Regions from separate parts of the Homo sapiens genome. Here regions 2, 3 and 4 are each linked to region 1. The links are contacts of gene promoters, found by promoter capture Hi-C in blood cells and fetal thymus (Javierre and others, 2016). All regions are on one chromosome and are shown on one strand. Each heading gives the region's core, a stretch centred on a gene start or on the middle of the fragment in contact. The rest is flanking DNA. Distances are from core to core; before and after follow the strand shown. Region 1 holds the start of NFAT5 (nuclear factor of activated T cells 5). Region 2 overlaps NOB1 (NIN1 (RPN12) binding protein 1 homolog). Region 3 overlaps WWP2 (WW domain containing E3 ubiquitin protein ligase 2). Region 4 has its middle 15 kb from the start of TERF2.

Region 1 (2,700 bases), core at 124-2,623:
GAGATGAAAGATAGGTGAGCTCTGATGACACACGTTTAAATTCTAGGTCTACAGGTAAAACTTTGTAAAGGGCCTTGCCTCAGCGACATCTGTACTGGGCCCTCCTTTGCTGAGAGCTTCTTACCCCAACCCTAGCACTCCAAGTCCCGAGAACTGCTCAATTTCATGGGAAAAAGTCTCTATAATTATATATATATGTATATATGTGTGTATATATGTATGTATATATATGTGTGCATATATATACACATACACATATTACAACAGACTGATTTTCATGAGTTGTAACTATCCTTGTAGATAAAAAACGAAACCATTCGAATAGCTTAAAAACCATGCCCACGTGGCTACTGGCATCAATATTCCACACAAGATTAAAATTACTTCCCAAGATGCACACCCTGCACTCCAGGTAATATTTCAATAACTTGATTAAAAATTTCTCAGAAGTCTATTAGAATCAGAAAACGCTCTGCGGTGTGGGTGAGGATTTTAAATTTTTGCAACGGAAACTTTTGGCTCCACGAACAGAAAAGCAAGAGCAAAAACTCAGTTAAATGCGTTCTTCCTCCATCTTTGCCTAGTCCAAAAGGAAAAAAAAAGAAACAGAAAAAAGAAAAACTGTTTGGAAGAGTAGCGTTGAGGTTTGCTTTTTACCTGTTTTTCCTCTAGAACAGCCAGGTGGATTCACATGATCCAATTTTTTAATTGTCTTCTATGTCCCACTCCGAATAACCCGGATGCCCCAGCACAATCAGAGAGATCGTTTTTTTTAAAAAAAATTTCAGCCTCCAAAGGTAGGAGGGGAGTGTTAGGGGAGAAAGTACTTTAATTAAAAATCAATAACTCGAGGTTTTTGGGATACGGTTTGCCATTTCCTAATTAAGAAATGGGTTTGACAGTCCCTTTGTACACACTGCTATGCAAACCCCAAAGGGTTGGCGGCTGTCCGGGCGATGACACTCCGGTCCCCTGCGAGACCCCGGGCCAGCCAGGCCCGTCCGCCGCCGGCCTCTGGGGTCCGTCCCCGGCTCGCGCAGACCTCTCGCTTCTCTCGGCTCTGTCTCCTGCGCTCAGCTCTGCTCGGGGCCGGCCGCCTCAGGCTCGCCGCCACCAGGTCGTTGCAAATACCTTTTCCCTCCCCGGGGCCCCAGCGCGCGGCCACCTCCCAGCCTCCCCCCCTCCCACCCTGGCAGCGGGGCCCTTTCCCGGCTCAGGAACAGCAGCAGCCCGGGCCGCGCCGGCAGGAAGCGAGGCCCATGTTGCTGCTGTTCCCTGGCGCGCCTCCCCGCCCTCCGGGGGCCGCCACGGCTCTTCCGCGCTCCCGGGCACCCCCCTCCGCGCCTGCGCTGTGCCCCACGGGGGCGGGGCTCAGATTCCTGTCAGCGGCGGCGGCGGTGGCGGCGACCGTCAGTTTTCGCTGAGGAGAAACACGAAACGGACCCTTTGGCTCTCCCCCTTCCCCTTCCCCGTCCTGAACCCCTCTCCTGGTCACCGAGAATCAGTCCCCGTGGAGTTCCCCCTCCACCTCGCCATCGTTTCCTCGGTCCTCGGCCCAGTGGAAGTCACTACCCTCGAGGAGGAGGCAGCGGCAGCCGCCCTCGCGTCGCCGCCCCCGGTTCGGTGCCCGCGGTCCCGGAGAGGAGGTGCCGCCGCCACCGCCGCTCCCCCCCTCCCGCTGCCCTCGGGCCGGGCTGGGTCGAGCTGCGATGCCCTCGGACTTCATCTCATTGCTCAGCGCGGACCTAGACCTGGAATCGCCCAAGTCCCTCTACTCGCGAGGTGAGTCAGGCTGTGGGGGGTGGGGCGTGGGGGCGGGGAGACAGGGAGACAGGGAGACAGGGCCAGGGGAGGCGAGGGGTCCCCGTCCCGCCGGGGGCGGCTGAGCCGCGACCCCCATGGCTTCTTTGGCCGGAGCGGGCAGAGGCCGAAGGGATCGGGGTGACGGTGGAGGGGGCGGGCGGAGCAGTGGCGGCCCCTCCCCCGCGGAGCCGCCGGCCGCTCGGGGCCCAGATTCCGTCGGCCCCCGGGGCTCTGCGGCACCGGTCGCTTCTAGCCGCTCTCAGCCCGTCCGGCCCCGCCAGGCTCCGCGAGCCGCCGGCCCCGGCCTCCCGGGCTCGGGGATGGCCCCAGACTGGGCCCCGCGCTGGGGCCACCGCGATCGGGGCGCCGCGTCTTCTCTTACCGGGACCCTCCTCCCCAGCAAAGTTGCCCCCAAGCGGGCGGCGTGGCCTGGAGCCGGTTCTGAGTGCAGGGTCACCATTTTCCTCCCTTTCCAGCTTGTTTTTGCGCCGTCGTTCCACCCCCTCTCCCTCCGGCCTAGTCCACTCCCTCCCCATGTTGGGACAGCCCCCCTCGACCAGGCGTTCTTCCTTTCCTCGTCATCTTCTTGCTGGAAAGGGCCCGATGGAAAGGGCCCGAATTTTCTTTTCTTTTTTTTTCTCTTCCCACCTCCGTGGCATTCTAATTACTTCTCCCTTCTCCTTTACAAAGATGGGGGTGCCCTCTCTGGATTGGTTTTATTCCTCTCCTCTCCCAGGAGGACCAGCCCAGGCACAGACGCTGTCCTTTGAGAATTTTCTCTGCTTTTCCGTTCAAGGGCTGGTTGCAGGGAGGGAGCTCAGGCAGAGACTTTTCATTTAAGAACTCTTTTGGCTAAGGCCTGCAGGGGATTCCCAGCATCTGAAATATTAGCACTGG
Region 2 (2,722 bases), core at 195-2,694, 180 kb after region 1:
ACTGTTCCAGAACCCATGTCCCTAACCCCATGCCACTGAGATACGGTGGGAGGTCACTGGCAACCTCTGTCCCCAAGTTCTCAGTGCCCAGGTGGAGACGGAACCCAGGCCCCAGAGGAATGATGAGGTGGAAGAAACACACATAATGTAGGGTTCTCTTTAAACAAGTCTGTAGAAGAAACAGGAATAGTGGCCAGGCGTGGTGGCTCACACCTGTAACCCCAGCTCTTTGGGAGGCTGAGGTGGATGGATCACTTGGAGTCAGGAGTTCGAGACCAGCCTGACCAACATGGTGAAACCCCGCCTCTACTAAAAACATACAGAAATTAAATTAGTCGGGTGCAGTGGTATGTGCCTCTAGTTCCAGCTACTTGGGAGGTTGAGGCAGGAGAATTGCTTGAACCCAGGAGGCAGAGGTTGCAGTGAGCTGAGATTGTACCACTGCACTCCAGCCTAGGTGACAGAGCGAGACTGTTTCTCAAAACAAAAAAAGAAACAGGAAGAGTGTTCCACAGAGGGCACCAGGGCCAGGGCACCAGCTACATACTTGAAACAGCCATGGCAGCGCAAGATGTAGCTCCGGGCCTCACGAATCAGCATGCCGTTCACCGCCAGCACGTGCAGCCCCATCTGCAGCAGAACATTCTACAACCACAAGTTAAAGAAGAAATCAATTTTCTTTTCACATTTCATTTTGTAATTACAGTTAAGGGAACTTCACAAACCCTGCCTTGCCCATATTCCTTGGCTTTTGCGAAGGAAACTCAGCCTGGGGAGGCCTCTCAAGATGTGTAAACGAGGACGAAGGCCCAGGTGTCTTTCTAACACCGTCCTGGAGCCTGTGTTCGTCATTTTCCATGACCTGTCATTAGCAAGCTCTCTCAACAGACATTTTATTTTGTCTGGGCCAAATATACTCATTGCTGGGCTGAAAACCCTCTCTCCCTGTGTTAAGAACCTGACTGACCACATGGCATTATATATACTGAAAAAAAAATCATAAAAAAATCATAAATAGTAAACGTTAAACATTTAATGTACTATACAAATGTTGTCATTATATGACGATTGTCTAGCCTCTAAGCAAAATTAAAAATCACCAAATGGCACAGGTGGTTTCCAGAACCAGGAAAAGAAGCGCTGCACAGCACCAGTTCCGTGTACATCTGTACACCTCGGTAGGACCACTGCCGATGACGTGTGTGACACACGGCCCAGGCCCACCCTACCCACCTGCATGGCGAAGTCTGTGGTCAGGCAGCCAACCCGCACGTCCTCGGGGACGTCACACTGCTCCAGCTCCTGCTGGATCTGCTTGATGTTACTGGGGGTTATCCAGCCACCCCCGTCGTCATCGCTGTCATCTTTTCTGTCTTCAAACCCGTTTTCTTCCTCCTCCTCCTCCTCACTTGGAACGTCCTCACCTCTGTCAATCTGAAACATCAACAGACCTTTCAAACTCCCAACCCACAGGAGCAGTGGAGGAGAAGTTGAGCTGTCGTCAGAAGACCAAAAGTCAAGGCCTCACCAGCAGCTCCTGCAGTTCATGATCGATGTTGGGCAAAGGGTTTCTCCAGAACATGAAGGAACTAAATTCCAGGTTCTCAGGCTCACAAGCTGAGTGTCCTTTTTCTGTTTCTTGTGGGGGTTTAGGCTGAAATTAAAAGAAACAATTTTAAAACCTGAAAATTCATCTGTAGCCACCTCTCAGGTCACAGATGAAATCACATATGATATACAAGTCAGATCAGACAGGGCTGGACAAACTATGTTATTGGTCCGCGTAAATTTAGTTCACTGTGAAGAGATGACTTAGAGAGATGTGACATGTTTCAGAAAAGAGCATGAACGGCCTGGCTTGTCTAAGAAATTACCTTGTAGGGCAGATGGAAACCAGAAATGTGCAGAGGTGTTTCTGGGTGCTGAATCGATGAGCTCACCTTAACCTTTAAAAAAACAAAAAACATATACCTCTTGTTATCAAAATTAAAGATATCCAGTTTTTTTTTTTGGCCGGGCACGATGGCTCATGCCTGTAATCCCAGCACTTTAGGAGGCCGAGGTGGGCGGATCACCCAAGGTCAGGAATTGGAGACCAGCCTGGCCAACGTGGCGAAACCCTGTCTCTACTAAAAATACAAAAATTAGCCTGGCGTGGTGGCAGGCACCTGTAATCCCAGCTACTCAGGAGGCTGAAGCAGGAGAATTCCTTGAAACCGGGAGGCGGAGGTTGCAGTGGGCTGAGATCACGCCACTGCACTCCAGCCTGGGGAACAAAAATGAGACTCTGTCTCAAAAAAAAAAAAGGATACCCAATTTTTTTTTTTTTTTTGAGATAGGGTCTTGCTCTGTCACCCAGGCCGGAGGGGAGTGGCACAACCTTGGCTCACTGCAACCTAACCTCCGACTCCCAGGTTCAAGCGATTCTCATGCTTCAGCCTCCCAAGTAGCTGGGATTACAGGTGTGCGCCACCATGCCCCACTGATTTTTGTATTTTTTAGTAGAGATGGGGTTTCGCCATGTTGGCCAGGCTGGTCTCAAACTCCCAGCCTCAAGTGATCTGCCCATCTCAGCCTCCCAAAGCGCTGGGATTACACACAGGAGCCACCGAGCCTGGCTGACATCCAGTGTTTTAAAAAAATCAGAGAATAAAAATAAAAAAATAGCTGGGTGCAGTGGCTCACTAACTCCCAGCCCTTAGGAAGGCTGAGGTAGGAGGAT
Region 3 (2,765 bases), core at 136-2,635, 200 kb after region 1:
CGGGAGATGGAGGTTGCAGTGAACCAAGATCGCGCCACTGCACTCCAGCCTAGGTGATGAAGTGAGACTCCGTCTTGCTTTTGGAGAGATGGGGAGTTGGGGGCGGGGGTTCTCACTTTTGCCCAGGCTGGTCTTGAACACTTGGCCTCAAGACATCCTCCTGCCTCAGCCTCCGAAAGTGCTGAGATTACAGGCATGAACCATTGCACCTGGCTCAGTCTCTTAACTCTAAATACTATCCACATGCTAACAGCTTCCATATGTGTGTCTAGCCTAGGCCTGTCTCGAGACTTCTAGATCTAATTGCCCACAATATCTTCACGTGGATTCCTATCAGGCATTTTATAATCAACATCAACAAAATTGAGCCCTACACCTGCCCCTCAGACAGCCTTCCCCATCTCAGTTAATGACAACTCCATTCCTCCAGTTGTTCAAGCCAAAGACCTTGGAGTCACCCTTGACTCGTCTCTTCCTCTCACACCCCACATCCAACTCAGCTCGTCCACAAAGCCTACTGGCTGTACTTCAGAGTACACCCTGGATGCATCTTTCCCCTGGATGATGGCAACAGCCTCCTAACTTGTCTCCCTCTTCCACCCTGGCTGGCCTTCACTTTCTCCACACAGGACCCAGGGCAAGTCTGTTAAAAGGCAGGGTGGATCCTGTCCACTCCACTGCCCAACTCAAACCCTCCAATTGTCCCAGCTTAACTGGAGTGAAAACCAATACCCTACAATGGCCTGCAAGCCTTCCATGACCTGATCTCTCCTCCCACACCCACCACCACCCTGACCTCCTCTCTCCACTCCTGCTTACTCAATCCCCTCCAGCCACACTGGCCTCCTGACTGGTCCCAAAACCTGCCAGTGGTACTCCTTATTTGGGGCTTTTGAACTCTGCCTGGACCCTTAAGCCCCTATTCAGCCACATGGCCCCTTCCTTCCCTCACTTCCTCAGATCTTTACTCAACCATCACCTTCAGAGAGAGGCTTTTCTAGGGATCCTATATTTTACTTTATTATTTTTGGAGTGTTGTTCTGTTGCCCAGGCTGGAGTGCAATGGTACGATCTTGGCTCACTGCAACCTTCACCTCCCAGGTTCAAGTGACTCTCCTGCCTCAGCCTCCTGAGTAGCTGGGATTACAGGCATCTGCCACTATGTCCAACTAATTTTTGTATTTTTAGTAGAGATGGGGTTTCACCAGGTTGGTCAGGCTAGCCTCAAAATCCTGACCTCAAGTGATCTGCCTGCCTCGGCCTCCCAAAGTACTGGAATAGGGGTTTTGTTTTTTTTTTTTTTAATCTTTTTGAAAACCACAAGCTAATGGGTTTCTTTTTTCTTAATGAGGCTACTCTTCCAACTGTGCATCTTTATAGCACCCCTGAAATCAATTTGAGTGCCAATTTCTGGAATTAGTCTGGCTTCCTGGGTTGGCATCCAGTTTAGGCCTCCAGGATGGATGGATAATGGGCTTTTTATGTTTGAAATATGTATTGGTTTTTTCAAACATGTATTGAATGCATGTTGTTTGTCAGGCATCCCACCATTTTATACATTTAACCTTGTTGAGGTGAAGTGACCCTCACGAGGTCAGATAGCTAAGAAATGAAAGAGATGGCCATTTGAATCTTGGTCTTCAGAGTCCACATCTGGTCCTTCTACCACTTATCATTAGTGAGATGGGTGGAGTGGCTATATAAACATAAACTCCCTTTGGAATCAAATCAGTGAGTTGCTTTTGAGCGACTTTGAGTCCCTTAGGACTATTATGTGTCACAGGCAGAAAGGGAATTTACCAGGTAAAGAAAGGCAGATTTATTAAAGTGAAAACACGTTGCAAGAAAGCAATGGGCAGCACAGCAGAGAAGGGGCTGTCTGCAAAGAGGCAGGAGATGGAGGGAAGTTTTACAGGGTTGTGCTGGAGGGGGCTATGTGGGGATTGATGCATCTGAGGGCTGTTTGTGATTAATCATTTCTCAGAACGACTGTCCATGGCTTTCCCCTACCTGAGGCCCCTTCCTCGTTGTTGCTTACTTATCTTATTAGGACTCCACATTATGGACTCTGAAATTTCTTTTCTTTCTTCTTTATTTGTTTTGCTTTTGAGACAAGGTCTCATTCTGTCACCCAGGCTGAAGTACAGTGGCATGATCATGGCTCACTGCAGCCTCAACCTTTTGAGCTCAAGTGATCCTCCCATCTTAGCCTTCCAAGTAGCTGAGACTATAGGCATGTGCCACCATGCCTAGCTAATTTTTAACTTTTTTGTAGAGATGGGGTCCCACTATGTTACTCAGACTGGTCTTGAACTCCGGGCTCAAGTGATCCTCCTGCCTCAGCCTCCCAAAGTGTTTGGGGTTACAGGTGTGAGCCACCACAACTGGCTAGGGCTCTGGAATTTCTGAAAGATGGGAACAAAAGGGAAGATGTTTCCCCTGGATGATGGGACAGGTTAGATTCTAACCAAAATCTTTTTAGAAGGTTGCAGTTCCCTGTTTTTCACCCCACCGCAGTTTATAGCAAATATTCAGTGATTTAAATCATTACTACTAATAATAACTATTAGGAAAATACCAGCCAGGCATGGTGGCTCACACCTATAATCCCAGCACTTTAGGAGGCCGAGGTGGGTAGATCACCTGAAGTCAGGAGTTTAAGACCAGCCTGGCCAACATGGAGAAACCCCGTCTCTACTAAAAATACAAAAAATTAGCTAGGCGTGGTGGCAGACACCTGTAATCCCAGCTACTTGGGAGCCTGA
Region 4 (2,700 bases), core at 75-2,574, 170 kb before region 1:
AATATGACATTTCTCAAACACCCTTGCAGCTCTGGTTCTGTTTATGATTTGGATTGTACTGTGTGAGACTTGATAACTATGAGTCACGTGGAGGGGGAGACAGAGCAGGAAGCATCCATTTTGCTGGCACTGGTCAGGGCAGAGGCAATGCTATTCTGGAGCCAACAGCTGTGGTGGCTGCTTAGCAATTCTTTTCTTTTCTTTTTTGAGTCAGGGTCTCATTCTGTCACCCAGGCTGGAGTGCAGTGGTGCAATCGTAGCTCACTGCAGCCTCAAACTAGTGGCTTCAAACGCTCTTCCTGCTTTGGCCCCCCAAAGTGCTAGGTTTACAAGCATGAGCCACTGTGCCCAACCACAGTGTAATTTTGAAAGTCATTCCTGGATATTTATCCTAGTGTCTATTTCTTCAACTTCCCTAATGAGTCCATGAGCTATCCATACCCCTTAATAAATCCTTTTATGTTTAAATTAGCAAGAGTGAAATCTGTTTTCTGCAACAAAGAAAACTAACCAATACATACATTCAATAAATGTTAGCTCTTACTATTATTTAAAATACTTCATCAAAGGTTTAGTAATAATGGAAGTAATTACATTTCAGGAAAGGAAATTTTAAATTGGCTACTAGATAGGACTATATAAAATAACTTCTGGAGTAGTACTGTCCCACAGAACTTGCTTTTTCTTTTTCTTTTTGAGACAGTCTCACTCTGTCACCCAAGCTGGAGTGCAGTGGTGCCATCATAGCTCAATGCAGACTTGAACTCCTGGGCTCAAGTGATCTTCCTGCCTCAATCTTCCAAATGGCCTCCCAAAGTTCTGGGGTTACAGACGTGAGCTACTGAGCCTGACTTGAATTCACAATATCGGCTCACTGCAACCTCCACCACCCAGGTTCAAGCGATTCTCCAGCCTCAGCCTCCTGAGTAGCTGGGATTACAGGTGCCTGCCAACACGCTCGGCTGATTTTTGTATTTTTAGTAGTGACAGGGTTTCACCATGTTGGCCAGGCTGGTCTTGAACTCCTGACCTCAGGTGATCCACCTGTCTCAGCCTCCCAAAGTGTTGGGGTTACAGGCGTAAGCCACTGCGCCTGGCCAGAACTTTCTTTAATGATGGACATGTTCTGTATTCGCACTCAATATGGTAGCCACTGATTATATGTGGCTTTTGAGCACTTAAAATGTGGCTTCTATAACTGAGGAACTGAATTTTTAATTTGATTTAACTTTAACACACTTAAGTTTAAAATTAAATAGCCACTTGTGGCTAGTGGCTACTGTGTTAGATAGCACAGTCTTGAGTATCCCAGCCCTACCTTTCACAAGGGTGTTTTACAGCTCTCTCTCTCTCTCCCTGGCCAAGGAAACATCTTCAGTCAGTTCTTCCACAAGCCCCAGTCTCAGGGCCACACCATAATAATCTACAGAGGTGCAAAATGCCCACGATGATGACAATTTTTAAACGGTAAATTTAGAGTTTCATTGTACCTAAACCTCATTCTAAGATTGCATATTGACTTTTTATTTGCACGACCGAATGTTTATTGACTATAAGGTACTTGTATGTGTGTATAATGAGAACTGTACAAGAATGTTTACTGAAAAACCAAACACCGCATGTTCTCACTCATAGGTGGGAATTGAACAATGAGAACACGTGGACACAGGAAGGGGAACATTACACACCAGGACCTGTTGTGGGGTGGGGGGAGGGGGATAGCATTAGGAGATATACCTAATGTTAAATGACGACTTAATGGGTGCAGCACACCAACATGGCACATGTATACATATGTAACAAACCTGCACGTTGTGCACATGTACCCTAAAACTTAAAGTATAATTAAAAAAAAGTTTACTGAAGCATTGTCTATAGTAGACAAAGGTTGGAATTAATCTAAATGCCTATCAAAAGAGAAATAGCCAAGCACAATGGAATATTGTATAAAAGTTAAAAAGGGCCGGGCACAGTGGCTCACACCTATAACCTCACCACTTTGGGAGGCCAAGGCAGGCAGATTGCTTGAGCCCAGGAGTTTGAGACCAGTTTGAGGAACATGACAAAACCCTGTCTCTGCAAAAAATACAAAAATTAGCAGGGCATGGTGGCATGTGACTGTGGTACCAGCTGCTTGGGAGGCTGAGGCAGGAGGGTCACTTGTGCCCTGGAGGTGGAGGTTGCAGTGAGCCAACACCATGCCACTGCACTCCAGCCTGAGTGACAGAGGGAGACCCTGTCTCAAAAAAAAAAAAAAAAAAAAAAGAATGACTATCTATAATAATCGTATAAAGTGTTCAATATTATATTATTGAGTGAAAAGAATCAAACTGCAGAATAATATATAGAATATAATTTGTTTTCTTAAAAACATGCATGTAAAAATACTACATGTTTATTTTCTATGAGTACATTTATATGTATGCAAAAGTATACTGAAAAGTCAGTGAGGATAGCCTCAAAACTCCTAGAAGTGATTTTTTTAGAGGAAGGGAGAAAGGAACTGGCGTTGTGGGGAGTGATTAAAGAGAACCAAAACTTTGTCTGCAATGCTCTAATTTTTTTCAAAAGGGAAGAATGTATTACCATATATTCACTAGTAATTAAATGCTAATAAAAATACAAAAAAAATAATGGTAGACTTTTAAAGGGGTAGCTTACTGTGAAATAAGATGAATAATTATAAATTTGTTATTCAAA

The links. The method cuts DNA at HindIII sites, captures the fragments that hold promoters and counts their contacts. A CHiCAGO score of 5 or more calls a contact.
Region 2: a fragment that was not itself captured here is called in contact with the fragment with the promoter of NFAT5 in region 1 in 1 of 17 cell types (neutrophils); the score reaches 5.2 in neutrophils.
Region 3: a contact is called between a fragment that was not itself captured here and the fragment with the promoter of NFAT5 in region 1, in 1 of 17 cell types (neutrophils). The highest score is 5.1, in neutrophils.
Region 4: a contact is called between a fragment that was not itself captured here and the fragment with the promoter of NFAT5 in region 1, in 17 of 17 cell types (megakaryocytes, total B cells, naive B cells and 14 more). The highest score is 26.3, in megakaryocytes.

What each region holds. Positions count from the first base shown.
Region 1 is chr16:69,564,593-69,567,292 of GRCh38, forward strand. It overlaps NFAT5 (nuclear factor of activated T cells 5), which reads left to right and starts at 1,374. Exons shown (of 15, transcript NM_138713.4): 1 at 1,374-1,782. The coding sequence starts at 1,710. It overlaps MIR1538 (microRNA 1538), which reads right to left and starts at 1,276; the gene lies at 1,216-1,276. RefSeq lists an enhancer at 1-338 and silencers at 1,000-1,379, 1,099-1,275, 1,570-1,839, 1,860-2,169. The HindIII fragment of the contact is 15,576 bases long and covers 1-2,700 here.
Region 2 is chr16:69,747,685-69,750,406 of GRCh38, forward strand. It overlaps NOB1 (NIN1 (RPN12) binding protein 1 homolog), which reads right to left. Exons shown (of 9, transcript NM_014062.3): 4 at 1,875-1,946; 5 at 1,529-1,654; 6 at 1,234-1,434; 7 at 548-645. Among named protein-coding and RNA genes, the nearest start is that of NOB1, 5.9 kb to the right of the region's middle. The HindIII fragment of the contact is 6,163 bases long and covers 1-2,722 here.
Region 3 is chr16:69,765,748-69,768,512 of GRCh38, forward strand. The region is part of intron 1 of WWP2 (WW domain containing E3 ubiquitin protein ligase 2); the gene reads left to right. Among named protein-coding and RNA genes, the nearest start is that of WWP2, 4.8 kb to the left of the region's middle. The HindIII fragment of the contact is 6,474 bases long and covers 1-2,765 here.
Region 4 is chr16:69,399,454-69,402,153 of GRCh38, forward strand. No RefSeq gene overlaps it. Among named protein-coding and RNA genes, the nearest start is that of TERF2, 15 kb to the left of the region's middle. The HindIII fragment of the contact is 7,123 bases long and covers 1-2,700 here.